Regions from separate parts of the Homo sapiens genome. Here region 2 is linked to region 1. The links are contacts of gene promoters, found by promoter capture Hi-C in blood cells and fetal thymus (Javierre and others, 2016). All regions are on one chromosome and are shown on one strand. Each heading gives the region's core, a stretch centred on a gene start or on the middle of the fragment in contact. The rest is flanking DNA. Distances are from core to core; before and after follow the strand shown. Region 1 holds the start of KRT27 (keratin 27). Region 2 has its middle 9.9 kb from the start of KRT16.

Region 1 (7,166 bases), core at 793-3,292:
ACTTTTTAGATCATCATACAACTCAGACTAAGCTTTGAGGTAAAACTACTAAGATAATACTTAAAACTTCAGGCCGGGCGCGGTGGCTCACGCCTGTAATCCCAGCACTTTGGGAGGCAGAGGCGGGCGGATCACGAGGTCAGGAGATCGAGATCACGGTGAAACCCCGTCTCTATTAAAAAATACAAAAAATTAGCCGGGCGCAGTGGTGGGCGCCTGTAGTCCCAGCTACTCGGGAGGCTGAGGCGGGAGAATGGCGTGAACCTAGGAGGCGGAGCTTGCAGTGAGCCGAGATTGCGCCACTGCACTCCAGCCTGGGCGACAGAGCGAGACTCCGTCTCCAAAAAATAAATAAATAAATAAATAAATTAATTAATTAAAAAAACACATTTCAGTTAGGTCATCTATCATGCAATAAATACATTTCATTGAAGCAAGAGAATGGGAATAGCCAAAATTCTTTCTCATATGACTTTGACACTCGTTTTTGTTAGTCCCGAAATTTCCCAAGTAAAATTTGTTGCTCAGCTAGTTACTCATTCTAACAGGCATTTTGTTTAAAACAAATACATGAATAAACAAGAACAAAGGCTTGAGACAACGTCAAATAACTTAGAAGAATAAAGGAGAAAAAATGCTTAGACAACTTTTTTTTCCCATTTATCTTCAGCTCTACTTACTTTAGTCTGAAGTCATCAGCTGTTAGTCTTGCATTATCATTTTGCAGGACAACATGGGCATTACTGGTAGTTGCAGAAATTATCTGACAAATGAAAAGTTAGTTAAGATTGAGGAAATATTTAAGATGCATTTCAAAGTTCCTTGAAATAAAATTACCCATGAAATTATAGTAATATTTCTGGCATCTGTCTCTAATAATCAGACCATTCTTTTGAAGATGGGTAATTTAAGTATGGTCTCTCTCTCTGTCTTTTATTTTGAGACCGAGTCTCGCTCTGTTGCCCAGGCTGGAGTGCAGTGGCACGATCTTGGCTCACTGCAACCTCCACCTCCCAGATTCAAGTGATTCTCCTGCCTCAGCCTCCCAAGTAGCTGGGATTACAGGCATGTGCCACCACGCTCGGCTAACTTTTGTAGTTTTAGTAGAAACAGGGTTTCACCATGTTGGCCAGGCTGGTCTTGAACCCCTAATCTCAAGTGATCCACCTGCCTTGGCCTCCCAAAGTGCTGGGATTACAGGCTGAACCACTGTGCCTGGCTGGGTATGGTCTCTTGTATTTCCCACCCCAAGCATTAAAAAAAGCTCTTTCTATGGGAAAGCCTATAAATATATAACTGGAGACACTGGACAGCTTTTGATATTTTAATATTACCAAAAGCATATACCTAATACTACATGATGGACGTGCCATGTTCAAATATTAGAATTTATTAGAAATTATTTTTAATATTGAAAATGAACTCCTAAAATTTAGAAGCTGAGGGCAAAGCCCTGTTATTGTGATAGCTTATACATTTGTGCATCTGTGAGTGGCTAAACACTCTCAGGAGTGCTAACACTCACGCCATGGCGTTTCTTACCTGGTTCTTAAGTTCGTCAATAATTGGGAAATATCTGCTGTAATCATGATCAAGGCCACGGCAAGAACCAGGTCCAAATTTCTCATACCACCCCTTGATCTTCTGCTCCAAGTCAGCGTTGGCCTCCTCTAGGGCTCGAACATTCTCCAGGTAGGAGGCCAAGCGGTCGTTGAGGTTCTGCATGGTCACCTTCTCATTGCCAGAGAGGAGGCCGTGCTCATTCCCTGTGAAGGCAGCACAGGAAGCACTTCCCCCGCCCAGACCTCCGCCATAGCCTCCTGCAGATGAGCTGCCCCCAAAAGCACAAGAGAAGCCACTTCCAATGCCTGGCACACCGCATGTGTTTCCAGCCCCAAAGCCTGCTCCCCCACTAGAGAGCCTCACAGAGCCAGTGCCCCCGCAAGAGCCAAGTCTCCTGGAGGTAGAAGAAAAGCGCACAGACATGGTGTCCGGAGGCTGGAGCCTTTGTTTCTGCGGTGATGCTCTGATGGTGAACGGCCTACTCAAACAGCTTGGTTTGCCTTTATATACACATTATTAGGGTGTTTCTTGATGAGCTTTGCTCATAGCCAAATGATGTTTGCCAGCTCATTGTGAATTATCCATAATGGGGTGATTTTTTTTTTTTTTTAATGAATGGCTTTACCATACTGTGTCCATTTCTGTAGGTGGATAGTTATTGTGGGGTTATTTGTTATCTCTGGAGTTGGACAGGGTGGAGTATTATCAGGATTATTATAGTGATGCATTTCAAATTTAGTATGAGTAACTCTTCCTGTCTTCCAGGCTTCAGGAATGCATAATACCTATAAGAATAAAAAAGTATGATAGACAGATTTCTCTTTCCCTTGCTCAAATCAGCATTGCATTTTCTTCAGCAATGAAGTATCATAGTATCAGAAGAAGGAGGGGAGGTCCTAAAGGAAAACTGAGGCATTAAAGGGAATCTTCTTTGGAGACAGAAAGTGTTCCTTTGATCCTTATCCTTCCTGAATTACCATTTCATCTGTACTGGTTTTCTGTCTAAGTTCCATTGCTAACCAGGTTAAGTAAAGGAATTGGTCACCTCCTCGGGCCTCAGTTTCCACATCTGTAAAGTGAAGGGTCTAGACTGTGGTCTCTATATTCACTTTCTGTCTGTAGATTGCTCATATTTCTGCATTCCTTCTATTGGCTGTCCATTTCCATAGCACTTTTCTGCATTGCTTCTTGTACTTTTCACCTCTTATTTCTGAATTGTGGTCCCACTATTTTACTGAAATTAACCTCTCAGACATCACTGCACATCTCTAATCATCATTTCTTTTATTTTTTCCCCTATACCCTCTTGGTTACATTCAATACTGACAACCTCAGTCTGATGAGTCTGATCGAGTTTCAGACAGTTGCTTTCTAAGAAATTTTCTACATCTCATGTTGCTCCCCTTTTCTCTTCCACTTATAGCTCCTGTGCCCTACCTTTGTCATTTCTTATAGTTTTGTGCTTGGTATTTACGACTCTCTCTCTTTTTTTTTTTTTTTTGACAGGGTCTCGTTTTGTCACCCAGGCCAGAGTGCAGTGACATGATCACAGCTCACTGCAGCCTCAACCTCCCAGGCTCAAGTGATCCTCCCACCTCAGCCTACCAAATATCTGGGACTACAGGCACACGCCACTATGCCTGGCTAATCTGTGTATTTTTTTGTAGAGTTGGGGTTTGCCATGTTGTCCAGGCTGGTCTTGAATGCCTGGGCTCGACAGATCCTCCCACCTTGGCCTCCCAAAGTGCTGGGATTATAGGCAGGAGCCACCTCACTGTCTTAATGTAAATTTTCCCGCACTGACTTGTCCGTTCTGTTTTACTACTTCCCTCTTTCCCATCTCTTTGCCTTTGTTCATGTTATTCTTTCCACCTGGTTTTCTTCTTCAGACTAAAAATTATAACAAATCATTTGAGATCTTGCATTTGCCAAGAATGATTGACATCACTTTCAATTACCTAGATTGAAAATGAAGTTGGCAAAAATATAAATTTTCATGACTTAATAAATGAGCTTGCGGAAAAAAAGCCAGAAAGATTTGTCAATCAATTTAATACATTATTAAAGTATTATGGTTTATTGTTTTACATAAAATTAGGACACCAAAACATTATTTCTTTGCTGTTTGTAGTTTATGCTGTTATATATGTGTACCCGTTACCTCATTACATGTTATAAATAATAAGACTTTTTAGAAGAAAAAGATTTATATTTTACTATTTCTTTTTTTTTTTTTTTGAGATGGAGTCTCGCTCTGTCGCCCAGGCTGGAGTGCAGTGGTGCCATCTCGGCTCACTGCAACCTCTGCCTCCCGAGTTCAAGTGATTCTCCTGCCTCAGCCTCCCAAGTAGGTGGGATTACAGGTGCCTGCCACCATGCCCGGCTAATTTTTGTATTTTTAGTAAAGACGGGGTTTCACCATGTTGGCCAGGCTGGTCTCAAACTCCTGACCTCAGACCACCCACCTTGGTCTCCCAAAGTGTTGGGATTATAGACTTGAGCCACCGCGCTGGACCTATTTTAATATTTCTAACTGAACTTTTTTTCTGACTTTTCAACAGGAGACCTCACATTTTCATTTTGCACTGGGCCTTGTAAATTATGTAGCCAGCCCGAATTGTTGGGTCTCTCTGAGGAAGCTGAAGAATCTCAGAGAAAATACCTCCAGATAGAATTGTTTGAGTGTTCTCCACAAAAAGGGAGCTCACTGTACAACCACTCTGGAAGGAAACACAGACACTTCACACAAAGCTTTCAAATGTTTAAGGTCTTACTCAAAACGAACATAATTTAAAATATCACGATACATTGAAAAACACTCCAACAAGAAAGACAGAGACTCAAACAAACAAAAAATAGCACTCAGGGGAAACAGAGATAATGAAGAACGTTGAAGAAAACTTTAAAAAAGAAACTACCTATAATTATTACTTTCAGAAGTAACAAAAATACTGTATATTTAAAACATGGATAGAACATCATTAAAATTGAACAGGAAGCACATAAAAGACCTCTTAGAATTAAAAACTAAGTCCCAAAAGAAAACTTCAATAGATGAATTGGAAAATAAATTTAAAAAAAAACTCCCCAAAATTAGAACAAAAAGATGAAAAGATAAATATGTGAGCCTTGAAAGAGCCAGTCTCTCTCTCTCTCTGTTTTTTTTTTTGAGACTGAGTCTTGCTCTGTCACCCAGGCTCGAGTGCACTGGCGCGATCTTGGCTCACTGCAACCTCCACCTCCCAGGTTCAGGTAATTCTCCTGCCTCAGCCTCCCAAGTAGCTGGGATTACAAGCACATGCCACCATGCCTGGCTAATTTTTGTATTTTTAGCAGAGATGGGGTTTCACCATGTTGGCCAGATTGGTCTCGAATGCCTGACCTCAAGAGATCCGCCAGCCTCGGCCTCCCAAAGTGCTGGGATTACAGGTGTGAGCCACCGTGCCTGGCGTAAAGAACCAGCCTCTTAAGATGAGTCCTGAGCAGCTAACTGGGCCTAAATTCAAATTAAAACCAAGCAACCATTTGCTGACTACAGGTCACATATTTACTCTGAGTTCCCAGAAAATGTGCACATCTGCTTAACTTTGGGACTTTCATAGCTTCCAGTTTATGCCACCTGAACCAAACAATAGGCTGTAACCTACATGGATCAATCAGAAGTCTGCATGCCCTGACTAATAAGAGCTAACTAAGCAAACATCAACCAACCAGAACTAAGTAAATTTCAATCCTGCATTTTGCATAAGCAGACCTAAGTGGGAACCTGGGTGGGAACTTTCTCTAAAAGACAAATTCCCTTCCTTTGTTCTCTGGAACACATTTTCATTTTACACCAAAGGCTGTGTCTCACCAGCTTGCTAGCTGTTTGCTGGAATGAAGTCTCTGTCCTTGAATTTCCTTCTCAGAGAACTTGTTTACAGATAAAAGAAAATATTAGAAAATGAGAGACTTGGGCCGGGCGCGGTGGCTCACTCCTGTAATCCCAGCACTTTGGGAGGCCGAGGTGGGCGGATCACGAGGTCAGGAGATCGAGACCATCCTGGCTAACACGGTGAAACCCTGTCTCTACTAAAAATACAAAAATATTAGCCGGCGGTGGTGGCGGGCGCCTGTAGTTCCAGCGGCTGAGGTAGGAGAATGGCGTGAACCCGGGAGGCGGAGCTTGCAGTGAGCCGAGATCGCGCCACTGCACCCCAGCCTGGGCGACAGAGTAACACTCCATCTCAGAAAAAAAAAAAAAAAAAAAAAAAAAAAAAAAAAGAAAAAGAAAATGAGAGACTTGGTCAAAGAAGAACAACATCAAGTAGGTCTTCTGGAAAGAGAGAAGGGAGAAATCATGAAGAAATTATTTTATAAACATATTTTCTGAAATACTACTCAGAACTAAACAACTGAGCTTCTAAATTCAAAGAGACCACCAAGAACCATGAATGATAAATGAAAAACATCCACAGTGAGGCACATCCACAGGATCTTTCAGAGAACCATGGCTGGGGGCGGGGGCGACAAACAAACACTTAAAATGTCAGGAGCAAAACCAACACATATTCAATTTTAGGAAAGCCATCATTCTAGTGAAGAATGCTTTCAAAATACGAACCCAGGCCAGGCGCAGTGGCTCACGCCTGTAATCCCAGCACTCTGGGAGGCCGAGGGAGGTGGATCACTTGAGATCAGGAGTTCAAGACCAGCCTGGCCAACATGGTGAAACCCCGTCTCTACTAAAAATACAAAAATTAGCTGGGCCATGGTGGTATGTGCCTGTAATCCCAGCTATTTGGGAGGCTGAGGCAAGAGAATTGCTCGAACCCATGAGGCGGAGGTTGCAGTGAGCTGTGATCACACCACTGTACTCCAGCCTGGTTGACAGAGCGAGATGCTGTCTCTTAAAAAAAAAAAAAAAGTGAACGCAAAATGATATCCAACCTTTTATTTCTAATCCTTTCCTAAGGTTTGTCACCTCATTTCTAAGTTTTTTTCTAATTGTGACTTATGTAGAGAACCAAAATTCTCTACTTTAACAACCACAAGTGAGGGTGGAATAAAAATCTTTTCCGACATGAAAGGTCTCAAAAAAATTATCTCTTTTGCACATTTTGTCAGGAAGCCACTAGAGAGAAAAACATGAAAAAGGAAAACTTAGGTTCCTGGAAATGGAGTTCCAATGTGAGCGCACTGAGTGAGTGTTCCCACATGACAGCTGGGTAGCAGGCTTAAAAAACAGCCAATGTTGCATAGGAGGACAGGAGATTCTGAAAGTGAGCACTTCAGGGGGATAGATGAAAATGATTTCTTGGTAGTTTTAATTGCATAAGAAAGTGGCATGAGAGATAAAGATACGGAGAAAACAGGGGTTAAACTACTTAGAAAATCGTTCTAACTTTAAACTAAGGGTCCTCCATGAATTCAGAAGGGAACGGAACGGCCTAGATCCTGTGAATTCTCAAAACTGACCAGCCATGGTTCCCTCCTGGGAGAGCAACCCACGACAAGGAGAAACTGCTAGGGGAAGAATCAAAATTATTCAGGAGAGGGTCACAGAGAGGAAGGAAACAGAAGGTCTAGATACAAGTGGAGGAGGGAAAAAAAGACAGGAAATT
Region 2 (7,166 bases), core at 1,762-4,261, 820 kb after region 1:
GGGTGTTGGTGGTTGTGATGGTGATAGTGGTAGTGATAATGTTGGTGGTGATGGTGGTGGGGGGATATTGGTAGTGGTGGTGGTGGTAATGATAGTGATGATTATGGTGGTGATGGTGGTGGTGGTCATGGTGGTGGGAGTGGTGATGATGAGGGTGGTGATGGTGGTGCTGGTGGTGTTAGAGAAGGTAAGTATGACAATGAAACCCCTGAGTCAAGTCTCTTGTTCTGTAGAACAGAACAGAACCAGTTTAAGCAGTCATCACCTTGAGCTAGCTTAGGGGTAAAACATACCCTCTTACAGTCTCATTCCACCAAAGTTAACATGTATTGAGGACTTACCAGGGGCCAGGTCTTAACTTCATCATGTCTTCTAATCCTCAGAGCAACACTAAGGCAGGTAGGGAGTGGGGCTGGGGTTCAAGCCCAGGCAGATCTGCTCCTGGGGGTGGGTGGGGGGTGGTTATTCTCACTGTAGAGAACTCACTAAGGCTGCAATTCTTGTGGCCATGTGGGCAGATAGGGCAAACACCAGCCACTGTTTAAGCCTCTGTAGGTCCACAGCCCAGTCCCCACCCACTTACCTAGAAGAGGAGGAGAGAGAGAGGAAGCGTCAGCCAAGGCCCAGCTATTGAGAAAGAGCTCAGCCAGTAGGGGTACTGCCCATCCCCTCACACATCAAAGGCACCTCTAGGGGAAGGAGGACAAAAAGCACCATTGCCTGTGTAGGTGCTGTAAATAAGTATCTTATTTAAGGCCAAGGTGGCTCCTGACTTATCACTGAATCCCCACCCTGCCCCCACCCCAAACCCAGCACAACACCTGGCCCAGAACAGCCTCTAAGTGGACTTGGACTGAATTCACTGGCCTACTGCTAGCACCCACCTTCTCTGCAAGCCTGATCAAGTCAAACAAGACCAGGGATCTTCTCACCAGGGAAGATCTATGCAGAGGCGGCACAGGGTTGGGGGTGCAGGGCATTCTGACACCCCACCTACTGGTCACGCACCCTTGAGTAAGTCGCTCAGCCTCCCTGAGCCTCAATTTCCTCACCTGTAAAATGGGATGAGTCAGGTGTGTGGAGATAGCGAGGAGGCCTTGCAGGGAGCATGCAGGGAGAAGGCATTTGCTCCAGCTCATCTTTAGGAAGCAGAACACAGCTGCCTGTCTGCAGCCTTGCTGCCAGAATCAAATCAGGCAATAAAGGGTTGGGCAACATTAAAAATTGTCAAACAGGAGAGGGAAGCAACAAAAAATGTTTATTGGGTACATACTGTGTGTTTTATCCACCCTTTATCTCCTCTATTCCTCAAATGAACTCCTTCAGATAAATACTAATACCCTAAATGTACGGATGAGGAAAATGAAACTCACAGAGACCAGGGGCGGGTGGAGGATCCCTCCAAGTTCACGCTGGAAGTTCAGCTTCAGGTTAGCCTCTGCCCTCCCCCCAGCTATTCGACACTACCTCCTGCAAAGGACTGTGATCTGATCTTTTTAAAAAATGTTTTCTCTTGGTTATCAGTTTTAATTTGTATAGTTATATTATTATCTAAGCATAAAGTAAATTAAAAATCTATTTTATGATCACATAAAATTGACAGGCCAGAATATTAGTGCATGCAATCTGTTTCTAATTAGGAAGTCGATGTGGTATTCAACAAATTAATTGATTCTTTGGTTCTTAAATTGTTGTTTAGTTTCTTTATTCATATACACACACACACACAATTTTATGCACATGTATTAAAATGTGTGTGCACTCTTTTTGTTCCTTTCCTGTTTTTCTTGGCTCCCCTTTTCCCCTCAACCACTGCCACCCACATCAGCCTTCAACCCCACCCCCACAGTAATCTATGTTCATAACTCTGTATGTATCTTTTCATATTGTTGGTGCTTATATAATCTCACAGACACATGCACATGCATTTACATAAATGAGGGATGAGGGGTTGGCTGTTTATTTCACATAAGTGAAATCAATATCCTACATGTACATTTCTGCATTCCACATTTCTCTCTCTCCAATCCCTGGAGGAATCCCTCCTTGCCATCCAATAAATAGCTCCAATTTATTGACTATAATGGCTGCTTAATACTCCAGGGTAGCAGTGGACCATTATTTATTCCACCTGTCCACTATCAACTTTTAAAAATGTGTTTGCCACCTTCTGTCACTACAAATAAACAGCAGTAAATATCTTTGCACATATGCCTTTTTATACTGGTCTGTTATTTCTATTAATTTAAAATTAAGTGAAGTCCCTTAAATAATTTGAAAGTCATCTTTGCTGTATAATCACATATAACAAAGCTGGAAAAGAACCTGGTAGAATAAAAGGTCTGGTGACAGAACAATGGATGAGTGTTTTCATTTTCTATATTTCCTTTTGTTTCGTCACACTATTCATATGGTAGATAAAAGCTAGAGACGTATGGGATTTTTTCTGTTGTTTTTTGTTGTTGTTGTTTGAGACAGGGTCTCACTCTGTCACCCAGGCTAGAGTGCAGTGGCACACTCTCGGCTCACTGCAACCTCCACCTCCTTGATTCAAGCGATTCTCCCACCTCAGCCTCCCAAGTAGTGGGGCTATGGGCACGCACCACCACGCCTGTCTAATTTTTGTATTTTTTGGTAGAGATGGAGTTTCACCATGTTGGCCAGACTGCTCTCAAACACCTGACCTGAGGTGATCCTCCCTCCTAGGCCTCCCAAAGTGCTGGGATTACAGGCGTGAGCCACAGCACCAGGCCGACGCATGAGTTTTATGTGTAACAATCCTAACATGGTAGGAGAAAGAGGGACCCTTGCAATCAACAGTGTGTTAACTAGGGGTGAAGTCAGAAATGGCGTCTCCTGGATAGCTGCCACTATTGCTTTAACACCCCTTGATCTGCTCAAAGCCCTTCGGGGGTCTTGGACTGTTGGGGATTCCAGGATGCAGACAGCACATCAGAGGAGGGGCCAGATAAGGAGCTCCACTGCCTCATGCCTCAGTTCTGTAGATGGGGCTCCATCCCTCCAGGGCTCAAGAAGATATTTGCTTTCACATCCATGCCAGCTTGTCAATACCTACCCATGGAGACCTCCCTGTGCCAACACAATGAGAAGCACATGGAACCCAGAGAAGCCTGCCCTCAAGAAATTCTTCTGAGCAAGTTCTGTGGAGTCCTGAAAGAGCAGAGACTTCTAAACCAAACCTCCACGGCCTGACTCCACAAGTCTTTACTGAGTGTCCTTTATGGGCTGGGTACCATCCAGGGGCTGTTGGTAACTAGCAAAACAAAAGTTTCATTACTGTTTATGTTTCGGGGAGCAGACAGAAGGTCTTAAACAACAAGCTACAGCAGTGAAAAGACAAGCACAAGAAATTGCTTATCTCATACACTAGGAGGGACACTGAGCTTATTAGAGCTCTCAGAAACAATGGACCCAAAGAAAGCAGAGCTTTACAAGCATACCACTCATTCATTTACAACAGCAGATGCACTTTATGGGCTGCCATTAATTCTCACTCTAGTCATTGTTTTTGCACCTCATGCAATTATCTAAAACAATATTTGCCGAACTTTGACAGTAAGTCAAGCATAAGGAATCTGAAGGTACCTTCAAATTAGACAGATTTCAAGGAACACTGGGAGTTCTCAACCTTCTCAGCTCAGGTGCCAGGATCTTAGGAAGTGGGAAAGACCAGGCAAGAGCAAAAGGCAGTCTGATTTGGGGCTTGAATCATAGTTTGAGAAATCCAGGCAGCAAGCCATTTCCAGATGGAAATTCTGGTTCCCTTATTGAAGGGAAAACTCATATTTCTGCACAATATTGTCCTTCTGTTTAAAAGGGGCTCATGATTTGTTTCTACAAGATAACAGCAATGAAGAAGAGATAAGTGATTTCTGCTCTCCGGGAGTTTTGCTAAGTGACTGTGAGACCCCAAGAAAGTTTTTTTTTTAATTTTCCTTTAACTACTGTAAACCTGAATTTCTGCATCTGTCAGGTAGAGGCCTTTCGTGATGAGCTTTCCAAGGATCTGCTCCTGGGGGTTAGGCACTCGGAAGATACGGGTACAGACAACTTCTTTAAAATAGCACCCATGCCCAGGCTGGGCATGGTGGCTTACGCCTGTAATCCCAGCACTCTGGGAGGCCAAGGCAGGCAGATCACTTGAGGCCAGGAGTTTGAGACTAGTCTGGCCAACATGGTGAAATCCTGTCTCTACTAAAAATACAAAAAAAAAAAAAAAAAATTAGCTGAGTGTGGTGGCACACACCTGTAGTCCCAGCTACTCAGGAGGCTGAGGTATGAGAATTGCTTGAACCTGGGAAACAAAGGTTGCAGTGAGCTGAGATCGCACCATTGCATTCCAGCCTGGGTGACAGTGAGACTTTGTCTCAAAAAATAAATAAATAAATAAATAAAATAAAATAAAATAGCACCGCATGCCCAGTTGGAGGGTATTCTACATCCTCTGTTCTGACATCTCATTAATGAACAACTCATGAAAGTGTGTGCCAGCCCAGGAGTTGTTTAGTAACCCAGGCCAGGACTATGTCTCTGTGTAAGGGTCCTTCCACAACATCATCTTTAAAAGAATCAGCTGAATCAATTTACCAAAGAGGTTTTTAAAGATAATACTCACAGTTGATGAGCATGTTTTGAAATAGGCACTCCCATTCCCTGCTGGCAAGATATGCAAATTGGCACAATTTCTCTTTAAATCAATTTGGCCATTCAAATCGAGAATCTTAAAACATCTGTATCTTCTCATCTAGTATACATCTAGGAATCTAGCCTAAGGAAATAATCAAAAATATTTGTGGGAGCTGAGGCAGGAGAATCGCTTGAACTCGGGCAGCAGAGGTTGCAGTGAGCCAAGATCATGACATTGCACTATCCAGCCTGGGCGACACAGTGAGACTCTGTCTCAAAAAAAAAAAAAAAAGAATGAAAAATGGTATAGACATTTAGTGTAATTGTTGTTGTAATTATAGTTGGTAAGATATGTTTACTTCATTTTTACTTCATTTATACATATATATGTATAAGTACATAAATATATATGCATAAATGTATTTTATTTATACATATATGCATAAATGTATATATGTATAAATGTGTATATATATGTACACAGTCACGGATTACTTTACAACAGGAACGCATTCTGAGAAATGCATTATTAAATAATTTTGTCATTGTGTGAACACCATACAGTGTACTTACAAAGACCTACATGGTATAACCTACTTCATACCAAGGCTAGATGGTATAGCCTATTGCTCCTAGGCTATAAACTTGAACAGCAGGTTACTGTGCTGAATACTATAGGCAATTGTAACTCAGTGGTTGGTATTTGTGTATCTAAACCTATCTAAACACAGAAAAAGTACAGTAAAAATGTAGTATTATAATCTTATGGGACCACTCGTGTGTATGTGTGTGTATATATATATATATATATATATATATATATATATATATACCATCCATCACTGAAAAACAACATGTTGTTATATGGTGCATGAGTGTATATATAGAGAGACAGAGAGAAAAACTTGTAAAAATACTATCAGTGGTTACCTTTGGTATCGAGATTTGGGGTTCGCTCTGAGTCATAGGCTCACCCTAGGGCTTGGGAGACAGGGTGACCAGAAAAAGGGAAACACATTCGCTAAACTACCAATAATGCCAACAATGATTGTGCATTATAGAGTAATGAATCAGGCTCAGCAGCCTTGAAAGATGAATATGGTTTTGTCATGTAAAGCAGAGACTTCAGATTAAACTCAGGTTAAACTTGCAGTTTATCTTCACCTCCTAAACACTACTAAAATTACTATAAATGGATAAAACCCATGGGGTCAAAGAGATCAGGAAACTAGATTATAGCAATCAAGTTTTGGAATCTGGAAAACAAAGACAAATAAAGCCCAGCGCTTGCCCAGAGAGAAGCCAAGAGGCAAAGCATATTTACACTCTGGAACTTTTTAACTCTGAATTTTTAAGAACTCTGGAAACTCTCTGGAATAGGGGGCACCAGGTACCTCTGACAGTGAGGAACAAGTGAACTAGAAATGGGAGGGTGAGCTAGAGATCTGTATAAAAAGCAGAGAGGCGGCCGGGCACGGTGGCTCATGCCTATAATCCCAGCACTTTGGGAGACCGAGGCAGGTGGATCACGAGGTCGGGAGATTGAGGCCATCCTGGCTAACACGGTGAAACCCCGTCTCTACTAAAAATACAAAAAATTAGCCAGGTGTGGCGGTGGGCACCTGTAGTCCCAGCTACTCAGGAGATTGAGGCAGGAGAATGGTGTGAACCCGAGAGGCGGAGCTTGCAGTGAGCCGAGATGGTGCTACTGCACTCCAGCCTGGGGGACAGAGCGAGACACCATCTCGGAAAAAAAAAAAAAGCAGAGAGGCCCCTGTAGCTCCTCTCTCCCCTCCTTGTCTGATCCCAACCACTCCACGATTACTCCAGGAGAAACTAGATGTTTATGCTGGAGAATTTCCCCAGAGGGACTCTGAATCCTGAGACACCAAGAAGGGCCAATAAACTATAATCAATTAGTAACAGAGTAGCTGAGACTGAGACCTTCTCTGCCCCCTTCCCGCACTCAGCTTCCAGAAAGCTGGTAGCTTTTACAATCCAGACAGAAAATTAGAGGTATTCCTTCTGGGGAAGACCCTACCCAAGAAAAGTCCTACAGATAACTGTTCCCCATTGAAACGCTTATTCTCCACCAGATTACTCTATACTGAGACCTATCAGTGGCAAGCTCCCATGCTATCCACACACATATACACATATTCCAATTAGTTTCTCAGTGACTTACTCTTAAATATGAACGACTACCAAGGACCACTAGACATCTGAGAAAAGCCTCTGGCATGAAAGATGGAGGCAAGACAAACAGCAAGAAAGGAACTGAGGAAACTGAGCCGATGACAGAAATAGAAGCATTGCTGGAGCCAGGACTAATAGGCTCAAAGAGATAGAGAAACTATTGCATCTTGAAACAAGAACAAGAGACTGTTGAAAAAACATGCAGAGCTATGAGATATGAAAAATATAAAAGACTGCTGTTGTTTTTAAGACAGGATCTCACTCTGTTGCCCAGGCTAGAATGCGATGGTGTGATCTCAGCTCACTGCAGCCTCGACTTCCCA

Evidence for each region. Contacts are between HindIII fragments. The CHiCAGO score rates a contact against its expected background, and 5 or more counts as called.
Region 2: a fragment that was not itself captured here is called in contact with the fragment with the promoter of KRT27 in region 1 in 1 of 17 cell types (monocytes); the score reaches 5.9 in monocytes.

What each region holds. Positions count from the first base shown.
Region 1 is chr17:40,780,508-40,787,673 of GRCh38, forward strand. It overlaps KRT27 (keratin 27), which reads right to left and starts at 2,043. Exons shown (of 8, transcript NM_181537.4): 1 at 1,543-2,043; 2 at 681-763. The coding sequence starts at 1,986. The HindIII fragment of the contact is 4,282 bases long and covers 31-4,312 here.
Region 2 is chr17:41,599,287-41,606,452 of GRCh38, forward strand. No RefSeq gene overlaps it. Among named protein-coding and RNA genes, the nearest start is that of KRT16, 9.9 kb to the right of the region's middle. The HindIII fragment of the contact is 9,356 bases long and covers 1-7,166 here.